Linked DNA regions of Homo sapiens: region 1 is linked to region 2. Evidence: promoter capture Hi-C in human tissues and cell types (Jung and others, 2019). All regions are on one chromosome and are shown on one strand. The core of a region is centred on a gene start or on the middle of the fragment in contact, and the rest is flanking DNA. Distances in the headings are between cores, read along the strand shown. Region 1 overlaps RUFY1 (RUN and FYVE domain containing 1). Region 2 holds the start of COL23A1 (collagen type XXIII alpha 1 chain).

What was found. The method cuts DNA at HindIII sites, captures the fragments that hold promoters and counts their contacts. A contact is called where the count stands out against the background at its distance.
Region 1: a contact is called between a fragment that was not itself captured here and the fragment with the promoter of COL23A1 in region 2, in 1 of the 25 tissues and cell types used here (lymphoblastoid cells).

What each region holds. Positions count from the first base shown.
Region 1 is chr5:179,569,160-179,574,197 of GRCh38, reverse strand. It overlaps RUFY1 (RUN and FYVE domain containing 1), which reads right to left. Exons shown (of 18, transcript NM_025158.5): 5 at 4,773-4,896. The region is part of intron 4 of LOC128966623 (a long non-coding RNA gene); the gene reads right to left. It also overlaps the pseudogene PRDX2P3. Among named protein-coding and RNA genes, the nearest start is that of RUFY1, 21 kb to the right of the region's middle. RefSeq lists an enhancer at 1,819-2,319. The HindIII fragment of the contact is 4,788 bases long and covers 404-5,038 here.
Region 2 is chr5:178,587,592-178,592,743 of GRCh38, reverse strand. It overlaps COL23A1 (collagen type XXIII alpha 1 chain), which reads left to right and starts at 2,351. Exons shown (of 29, transcript NM_173465.4): 1 at 2,351-2,840. The coding sequence starts at 2,547. RefSeq lists a silencer at 2,150-2,349 and an enhancer at 3,005-3,905. The HindIII fragment of the contact is 6,512 bases long and covers 1-5,152 here.

The DNA of each region.
Region 1 (5,038 bases), core at 1,548-4,047, 980 kb before region 2:
GTCTCAACCTCCTGACCTCATGATCTGTCCACTTCGGCCTCCCAAAGTGCTGGGAGTGTGAGCCACCACGCCCGGCCTTCCAGTTTATGAGGCTAATACAATTCTGACACGGAAAGGTGGCAAAGGCAGTATAGAAAATTCAGAATAGTTTCACTTACAAGCAGAGACACAAAAATTCCAAACAGTAAACATATCAAATCCAGGGTTTACAATGATCAGGTAGGGATTATTTTAGAAATTCAGGGATAGTATTCAATAAGAAACCTATGAATTAGTTCAATTATATTTATGGGTTAAAAGCAGGTTGACATGTTGATAGATCCAAAAAAAGTATCTGACAACATTCAACATTCATCTCTTAAAAAATCACAAAGTAGGCCGGGCACGGTGGCTCACGCCTGTAATCCCAGCACTTTGGGAGGCCAAAGTGGGCAGATCACGATGTCAGGAGTTCAAGACCAGCCTGGCCAACATAGTGAAACCCCATCTCTACTAAAAATACAAAAAATTAGCCGGGCATGGTGGCAGGCACCTGCAATCCCAACTACTCAGGAGGCTGAGGCAGGAGAATCACTTGAACCCAGGAGGCGGAGGTTGCAGTGAGTGGAGATTATGCCACTGCACTTCAACCTGGGCGACAGAGTAAGACTCCATCTCAAAAAAAAGAAAAAAACAAAACGACAACAACAACAAAACACAAGGTAAACTGGAGTGGAAAGCACTCTCTAAACGTGAGAAACCGCATCCCTCAGACATCAGCAGCAAACATGTATACTTTATGTATACTATTATGTATATGATTATGTATACTATAGTGTGTTTGAAGAACACACTATAGGCACTGCCATTCAAGATAGCACTAGACCAGATTGCTCACTCATGTCTATTAATTAATTAAAATCTCAATGGAGTTTTTATTCTGGAATTTGACAAAACGATGTTCAAGTTCATCTGGCAGAATGGATGGCCCAGAAATATTTGAAACAGAAGTACAGCAGAGTAGGCAGGCGCTTAACTACCAGAGTCTAGAATATACTATCTGGCTCCAGTCATTAAAAGAATGTGTCACTGGCATAGGAACACAGATTCAGATTTACAACAGAAGAGTCCAGAAATAAACCAATGCATATTATGGATATTTCACATATGATAAAAGTGGAATTTCAAATTAGTAGAAAAAATATATTACATGATGATATTGCAAAAACTGGTTAACTATTTGTAAAAGAAATTTAGATTCCTACTTCACACTATGCCAAAACAAATGGCAAAAATGTGTAAAATTTACACATTTTTTACACATAAAGTGTGTAAAAAATTACCCAGGTAGAAGCAGAAGGTCTTGGCCTGGCCCTCCAGGGTCCCAGACTGTGGAGATTGGAGGGGCAGGTCTGGCCTTTCCTGGGTTAGCACAGGGTACCCAGTAGGGGCACAAGCTCACTATCCATCGGCCAGCCTAGTTGTGTTTGAAGAAGTATTCCTTGTCATCCACATTGGGCTTCATTGTCGCTACCAGGCTTCCAGCCAGTGGGACAAACTTTCCCGTGCTCATCTGCGTACTGGAATGCCTGGACCAGCTGCAGAGCCTCATCCATGGAGCACCCCAGAGGCAAATCATTAACAGTGATCTGGCAAAAGTCACCCTTGCCATCGATGATAAAGAGGCAGGGTAGGCAATGCCCTCATTGGTTTTCAGCACACAGTAATCTTCAGACAAGCTTCCCGTCACATCAGCGGGTGGGGGATGCTCGGGGGCCTAAGCCTCCCTACTTCTGGGGGTTGTTGATCCAAGCCAGGTGGGTGAACTAAGTCCACCCAGACACCCAGCACTTCGCAGCCCAGCTTGCGGAAATCCTCGGCATGGTCGCTGAATGCGACGTTCTCCATGGGCCACAGAAAAGTGAAGTCCAGAGGGTAGAAAAAGAGGACGACGTACTTCCCTTTGTAGCCCACAGCTTCACCTCCTGGAAGGCGCCATCCACCAGGGCAATGGCCTTGAAGTCAGGGGCTGGCTTTCCGAGCTGCGACTGACTGGAAGCCATGACTGAAAGCTGTGGCGGTAAAGGCTGGACAGACTGACAACCAGACGCGTGGACTCAGGTTCCAGCTCCCCACATTTGATATTAAAAGTTAGGGTAATGTTTAGATAGGGAAGGACCTTCAAAGCACAATACCTTAGAAGGTATAAAGGAAACATCTGCTAAATCTGGTTGCCAAAAACTAAAAATAAAAAACTTACAGGGCAAACCACCACTGAGAAACCAGAAAAAAAATTTATAACAAATAATTCTGAAAAAGGGTCAATGTGCTTAGTCTTTAATAAAGAAGTAGAGAAAGAAAACTCAAAAATGGACAAAGAATATGAAAAGATAATCACAAATGCTGAACCACCAATGGCAAATAAAACAGGAAAATACTTGTAAATTTGAGATAATGAGTTGTTTTGTCCATGAGGCTGAAAAAGACTGAGAATGCTCATCACATCCAGTGTCAGGAGGAAATGTGTTCTCTCCCACACTGCTGGTGGGTGTATATAATGAAGACCTTTCTGGAGGTCCGTTTTATGTTATCTAGCAAAATGTAGCCTGTATACTTTGACACAACAACCCCAAATTTATCCTAAGGAAATACACGGACAAGAGTACAGAGAACTTCAAGGATGTCTATAATATTGGTGTTTTTTTTTTTTTTTTCCAGACAGAGTCTGGCTCTGTTGCCCAGACTGGAGTGCAATGCAGTGGCATGATTAGAGCTCACTGCAGCCTTGATCTCCCAGGCTCAAGCAATCCTCCCACCTCAGCCTCCAGAGTAGCTGGGATGACAGACAGCATGCCACCATGCTCGGCTAATTTTTTTAAATTTTTGGTAGAGACAAGGTCTCACTATTTTGCCCGGGCTGGTCTCAAATTCCTGGGCTCCAGTGATCCTCCTACCTTGGCCTCCCAAAGTGTTGGAATTACAGGCGTGAGCCATGTGCCCAGCAATAGTATTGTCACAATATGGAAACAATCTAAATTAATAAGGTACTGGTTACATAATTGTACGTTAAAAAATGAAATACTACATAGTCATTTTAAATGGTTTATATCTCTCGTTATTGAGAACTGTGTGGAACATATTGTTAAATTTTTTAAAATTACAAAATGGTGTGCTTAAAATAATCATAGTTTGGTTTCATAAAAAAAGAAACCCTTCGAACATCTCACTCTAAAATACACAAACATATACACACACACATGCATGCACACACCTTTATTCATCTGCTAGAAGGGTGTATACCAGAATGTAACACTGAATTATCGGTCTAAGAGTAATGAGAATATGTGTGATGTTTAGTGTCTTTTCAAAAATACTTCTCTGAATTCAAAAAAAGATATTTTTCAACATGCAAAGACAATCGAACTTTTTTTTTTTTTAAAGGGAGGAGAGGTTATAAAAAAACACTGACCTGCACATGGAGGGATCAGGGAATCTTTAGATTCACCAAACACAATGCAGGAAAAAGGCTGGGAATTTTGCTAGGTAGTGTAAAATAATCTCTTTTTTCTGGGCAGTGGCCCAGCTACAGCTGCGGATGCCCCGAAGAGGGGGTGGAAGTGAGGAATGGGTTAGGGTACCTATTCCCCTCACACATTTACAGTCCCTGCCACCAGGAGTTTAGGCCTTGGCTCTGGTCACCAGCTCCTATGCAGGAAGAAAGCCCATCCCAAGAGGGCTGTCCTTCCCACAGAGCACTCTACACCTTACTGGTTACTCTCCTTTGTGCCATTTTATCAACCTGACTTCCCAAATCTCTCCTGACTCTATCTTCCTACTCCCCATCCAGGCTTGCAGGACTTCTAGACTAGTCTCCTCAAGGCTTTTGCTGTATCTATTCTTGGCCACTTCCAACTCATAACCTGAATGGCTGCTAGATTGAGCTTTCTCAAATCCAGGCATGATCATTTCAGTGTACTTTTTAAAAACCTCCAACAGCTCCCCAAAGCTCAGGATAAAAGGGGATAAAAGCTATACCCTTCAGGCAAGGCACAGTGGCTCACACCTGTAATCCCAGCACTTTGGGAGGCCGAGGCGGGTGGATCACGAGGTCAGGAGATTGAGACCATCCTGGCTAACATGGTGAAACACCATCTCTACTAAAAAAAAAAAATACAGGCCGGGCGCAGTGGCTCACGCCTGTAATCCCAGCACTTTGGGAGGCCGAGGTGGGCGGATCACGAGGTCAGGAGATCGAAACCATCCTGGCTAACACGGTGAAACCCCGTCTCTATTAAAAATACAAAAAATTAGCTGGGCGTGGTGGCGGGCACCTGTGGTCCCAGCTACTCGGGAGGCTGAGGCAGGAGAATGGTGTGAACCCGGGAGGCGGAGGTTGCAGGGAGCCGAGATCGCGCCACTGCACTCCAGCCTGGGAGACACAACGAGACTCCGTCTCAAAAAAAACAACAACAAAAAAGCTACACCCTTCAGCATAGCACCAATGGCCTAACTATCAGGCCCAGCCTCCACTTTCACCTCGCCCACAGAGCATCCTCTACTCCAGCCATGGAGAGCTGTCTGCCTGTTCCCAAACCTGCCAAGCTTTCCGTGTGTACCTCTGGCTATGCAACTTCTTCACCCTTCCGAGACCTTCCCCAGCTGCATCCCTGGGGTCCTCTACCAGTGGGCTCTTTGCCATTTGCCCTTCTTTGGGTTCAGTACCTGTTTGCAGATCCTATGTAAAGTCCCTGGACTAACGAAAGTGTTCATCTAGAGCCAAAATTTCATTTTACCTGAGAATCCAAGTCTTCTCCTTTCAAGCAGAGATTGGCATCGAGAACATTGAGTCCCACCAGCAGACCAACAATCACCATCCCTTCTTCCTCCATCATTAAAGCCTCAGGCTCATAGAACTCGCTGAAAGAGATGGACAGGACAGGGCGATGCTCAGAAACAGCTTCACCATCCCCACTCCTTCCCCACCCTGAACTGCCTTTTCACCTGTGCCCTGGAGCCAGAAGATACTGCTGTGGATTTCCTCCCTCCCTTTCATTTCTCT
Region 2 (5,152 bases), core at 1,102-3,601:
GGTTGGGCATTCTGTAAGGATAGCAATGCTGGCTGAGGCTCTGCAGGCAGGAAAGACAAGCCCACACCTGGTGCTGTCCCTGTGAGGGGCAAACCATTGGTCCTTGCAGGAAGGAGGGAATCCAAAGTAGCTGTTTTGCCACCACGTGGCCAGTTAGTCTGCCTGAGGAGTACCTTGTTTAGTCTATTGCTGACAGGTTAGCCATTCATAGGCAGCAGTAGCGGGATTGGTGTAAGTGCTGTCTACCTGTTAGGTGATGCTACACACGATAGGTTAGTGGATATTCTTTTATTCCCCCTCAAGATCTGCCCTTCTTCCTTCTGCCTCTGCTCTCTGCCCTCTAGGAGGCTGGCCCCTGCCCTGGAGGTTTGGTCATTGGAAGGCCCCAGTAGATCAGAGAGCAGGAGAGAGCAGTTGAGTATTTATTCTGTGAGCTCCCTCCCTTTCAAGCCATGGCTTTGCAGAGGCTGTTCCCCTTAACCAAGGGCCACAGGTGCTGTGGAGCAGCCCTCTTCTATAGCTCCAAGTTCCCCAGGGTTCCCAGTTAGGGATGGTAATGGCCTCCCACTGTCAATACCCGCAGAGTGCTGCTTCGGCCTCCCCTGCTGGCCCCTCTGATCTCCACTTTGTGAAGTGGCTCTACATTCAGGCTGTCTTGAGTCACCCTCTCTGAGGATGCCATCTATTCTTCCAGGACCCTAATGGACACAAGTAAGTCATTTTCTTTTTCGCCTTTTAGAATGAGTTGCAGACAGTATTTCCATCTTAATTCAGCCGCCCCAATTCCCTGATTAATCTTGTGGGCCACCTTAAATTGGGCAGTCTGGGAAGATCTTTTAGAAGCAGTGAGGTTGAGGACCTTGACCTGGAGGATGAGGAGGGGCTTGCCGTTTAACGATCTGAGAGCAGGAATGCAGGTAGTGAGGTGGTAGGCAAGGGCAGAGGCCCAGGGGCCAGTGAGCTTGGCTTTTTCAATACACAGAAGCTTCAGGAACATGGCAAACAATACATGCAGTAACATTAACATAGGTAGGTGGTGTGCAGTTTATGTGCCTGTAAGAAATGTAGTGCTGACTTGTAAGAGGGTGTTGGCCTCTTTTCAGAATGAGGCCAACTTTTCATTCTATTGGGCATACACCAGACTTTAGCACAGAGCCAAGTCTATCAACCATAACCCCCGGCCATCTCAGGGGTTCCCCTCTGAATTAAGGGAAGGAGATGGAACATGTTAGCCAGAGGCACTCAACAGTTCTAAAAGGTGAGTATCCACAGAAATGAGACAACCAGAAGATATCCAGAGTGAGAGGGAAGATGGATATAACGTTATTTTTCTTAAAAAAAAATGGTTGGGGGGTTACTCAAATCACAAAGATCTGAACTGCTGGTTTGTTGTTTCATTTAGGTATTACAGGAGTTAGCGAAAGAGTTACTTGGGACCCATTTAGGACATGAATATGCCTGGTAGGAATCTGAACCCAGCCTGACTTCCAGCAGTTCTTCCCTTTCCTGCCAAGACTTGTTAGTGCCACTCATTCTGTTCTCTGGACCCAGGCTGTACGCCACAGCCTTCTTGCCTCAGCCCTGTGATTTAAATTTGCAGCAGAATCGCAGTACAGGTTAAGTGTGGTGCATACTAGATCATAATTTTTGGCCAAGTTGTGCGTCTAATACAGAATTAAGTCATCAGTTGAACAAGACTTGAAGTTCATTTTCTGAATCTTTCCCATTCGTTATAGTCTCAGTTTTCTCAAAAGCCCTCTCCAGGCCAGAAACAGTCTTACCATTTTTGTTTCCCGCACCGAAGTCCGGCAGCTAAGAACTCGTGAGAAGATTCTAAGGGGCGTATTTCTGTTTGGCGCAATCTCGACCCTGCCTCTCTAAATGTGAGTGCGCAGAGGTCGCTTTCCGCCACGAAGCGGCGCTAATCCACCACCGAGGACAGACCCACTCAGTTTTTTGCAGGATTTGAAGTTTTGAACTTTTACAAGTGTCAGAAAGGTAATTCACAAGTTTAGAGGAATGTGCTAAGGCACGAGTGGTGGGTGCTCCAGCCAGGGGTGGGCTGCAGAAGGGGCGCGGTGTCGCCGGGCTCCCCTCCGACCTCTGGGGTCCACAGTGCGGGCTTGGGCTGGGGAAGCCTCAGAGGTGCGTGCGGGGGCGGGTGCCGGCGCCCGGGCTAGGTGAGGGCAGAGGTGCGCGCTGCGCGTGGGATCAGCCCGGCGCCGACGGGTGGCTCCGAGGAGCTCGCTCCTTCCTCGCCCCCGCCCCCTCGCCGCGCGGGGCCAGCCCGGCCGCTCCTCCCCTGGGTGGGTCCCTGCTCCTTTTCTGGCAGGGTCTATTTGCATAGAGGAAACTGCCCAAAGTGGCCGCTGTGGAGGAGCTGGCTGCGGCGAAGGGGGCGTGCGCGGCGATCCGCTGCTACCCGGAGGCTAACCCCCGCGCCCGGCGGACCTCGTGCCTCGGGCTGTCCCGCCTGCTCCTCTCGCACCCAGCCTCTGCCCCAGCAGCACCGCCCCCTCGGAGAGTCCACGCGCGACGAACGCGCCATGGGCCCAGGCGAGCGCGCCGGTGGCGGCGGCGACGCGGGGAAGGGCAATGCGGCGGGCGGCGGCGGCGGAGGGCGCTCGGCGACGACGGCCGGGTCCCGGGCGGTGAGCGCGCTGTGCCTGCTGCTCTCCGTGGGCTCGGCGGCTGCCTGCCTGCTGCTGGGTGTCCAGGCGGCCGCGCTGCAGGGCCGGGTGGCGGCGCTCGAGGAGGAGCGGGAGCTGCTGCGGCGCGCGGGGCCGCCAGGCGCCCTGGACGCCTGGGCCGAGCCGCACCTGGAGCGCCTGCTGCGGGAGGTGAGCGTCTTGGCGCGTGGCTGGGGCGGACTTGGGTGTGTCGGGTTGAGGGTGGCGGTACGCTGGGAGCCGGGGGCAGCGTGCAGGTCTCTGGGAGGAGGGTCGCCCGCCGGCTGCGTGCGCTCGGGGCCGTCCCAGAGATGGGCACGTCTGCGCCAAGGCGGAGGCAGGGGGTGCCGGCCCCAAGGGGTTTTGCGGTCTCCGCTCCGGCCTCAGGGTCCCGTGCCAGGCAGGCGGCCGCGAGAAAGGGGAAGGAGAGACCAGGGACTTTGGAGTAACAGACCTAGGGTCAGTCTCCACGGGGTGTGCGCTCGGACACGCCGCTTCCCGCCGGCGGCCAGAGTCGGGGATAAAGATGAGGCTCGTGGGAAGTATCTGGTGACTGTGACCAGTAGCACCTACTGTTCCTAACCAACGCTGGTACACCTGGAGAGGCGGTGGTCACGGCGGAGGAAAGCCTCAGACAGGCCCGAGGGCTGGGCCCCGCTGTGCTCCAGTGTGTCTCCAGCAGCTCAGGCCCCAAGACTGAGCGGTCACCGTCGCACTGAGGCCTCGGGGATGGGGGTGGGGGCGCCCACATGACTTGGTAAGATGAGAGGAAGGAGAAACAATCGGGGGTGGAGGACCTGGATTCTGGTTTCAGGCGGTGCCATCTGGGGTGTGGGCTCGCAGGACATCCGGAGTTTCCCGTCCCTTACCTGGGAATCGCGACTTCCACAGCTTACTTGAAAGCTCATATGAGGCTCTGTGACACTTCTAAGGGTTAAGATTGCTGCTGTGTGTCTTCAAAGAAAGAGCCACCTTTGGGTCCTCCAAGCCCTCACCCAGCATGTTGGTCAAAGCCTCCGCCTTTTGTGTGCGGCATGTGCGGCAGTTCCCCTCCCCACGAAACTGGACAGGCCCTGGTGGGCTGGCCAGAGCCTCCCCTGCCGAGCCTTCCTCCTTCTCCTGGGATAGATGGCTGCTCCAGACCCCAAGGTCGCTGTCCAAGGGCGCATCCTCAATTGCTGTGTGAAAACAGGCAGGGTTTCAAGGTGGAGGAGAGGGAGCACTGGCCTGTACACCCCCAATTCCCTAGACTGCCCAGCTGGGATCTTTATTAACGTATCCAGCTGTGTTTCCAATGTTGAGTTCCTTTGGATTCCAAAGGAAAGTGGGAGAAGATGACTTGCGTACCACACCTCCTTGTTCACCCCACCTGTTTCTTAGTCACTTTAATTTAAGCTAGGATCACATCTCTTCTAGCTGGGTTCTGGGTAAAATTGCTGCTTCATGAAATGATTTCCTATTTTACCCTTGAAAGGGCCTGCAGACTTAAAACTCTCTCTCAGCCCTGCTGGAAACTCCTGGCGATGGTTTCATAATTGCCGCCCATTAGCTTTTGGCAAATGCCTGGAGACCAGGGTGTTGAATTGATTTATAGAGGGCCAGTAAAGTTTCTACCTGTTAGCGCTATAAGTGTGGCTGCTCTTTCTCATAGGAGGCCTCTCTTATTTGCTAAAAATAAACCGCAAGCCCTGATTGAGTAAATCAGAAGTCCTGATACAACCATTTTACAAGGAACTACAAATTGTGTCTATTTTAGGAGGGAGGGGCATCCTGGGCAGGCAGCCACTGCTGGGAAGTGTTGATTTTTGAGTCCTGAACTTCAGCGGGAGAGACTGCAGTTGCTCTCCCAGGCTTCCCCCCTCCCGGCTGCACTGAATTTTACCTGGGTGAACTACAGTGCTTGAACAATGAGTTATTGGACAGGGTGTGTGTTCTCTCTCTCTCTCTGTTCTTGATTAGAAAGGCAAGAGAAAAATTTAGAATCCAGGGAACCCTGTATTCTGGAGAATTTGCCGTGCCATTCACACGTGGTCCTGCTCGCTAATCCCAGCTGGGTATCTGAGGCGCATGCTGTGCGTGGAGTGTAAGCTGGCTGGGTTTTCCCGCCAGTGGAGAGTCAGAGATGGTGCAGTATGAATGCAGTTGGGGCTGAACTTCTGGTTGTTTGGGTGGCCCCTGTGAGACAGCTTCTCTCTCTTAGGGTACCAGCCTGTTTCTGCTAGGAGCTATTCTTCTTGTAAATGTCACTGGATGGGAAATGTACACAGCCTGGCCGGTAACAATGAGTTCCTTGGCTGGGAGGAGAGCACTGTGGGAGGCACATACAGGGAGTGAGTAATTAACTCTAATTAGATGTATAGATACTTTTTCAAGCCATTAGATATGAAAGCCAAATAAATATTGAACTCAAAATCTCGGAAGAAAAGAACATTTGTACTTGAAGCTGTTTTTCAGTTCTGATTTGTTCTCAGTGAAGCCTCTTT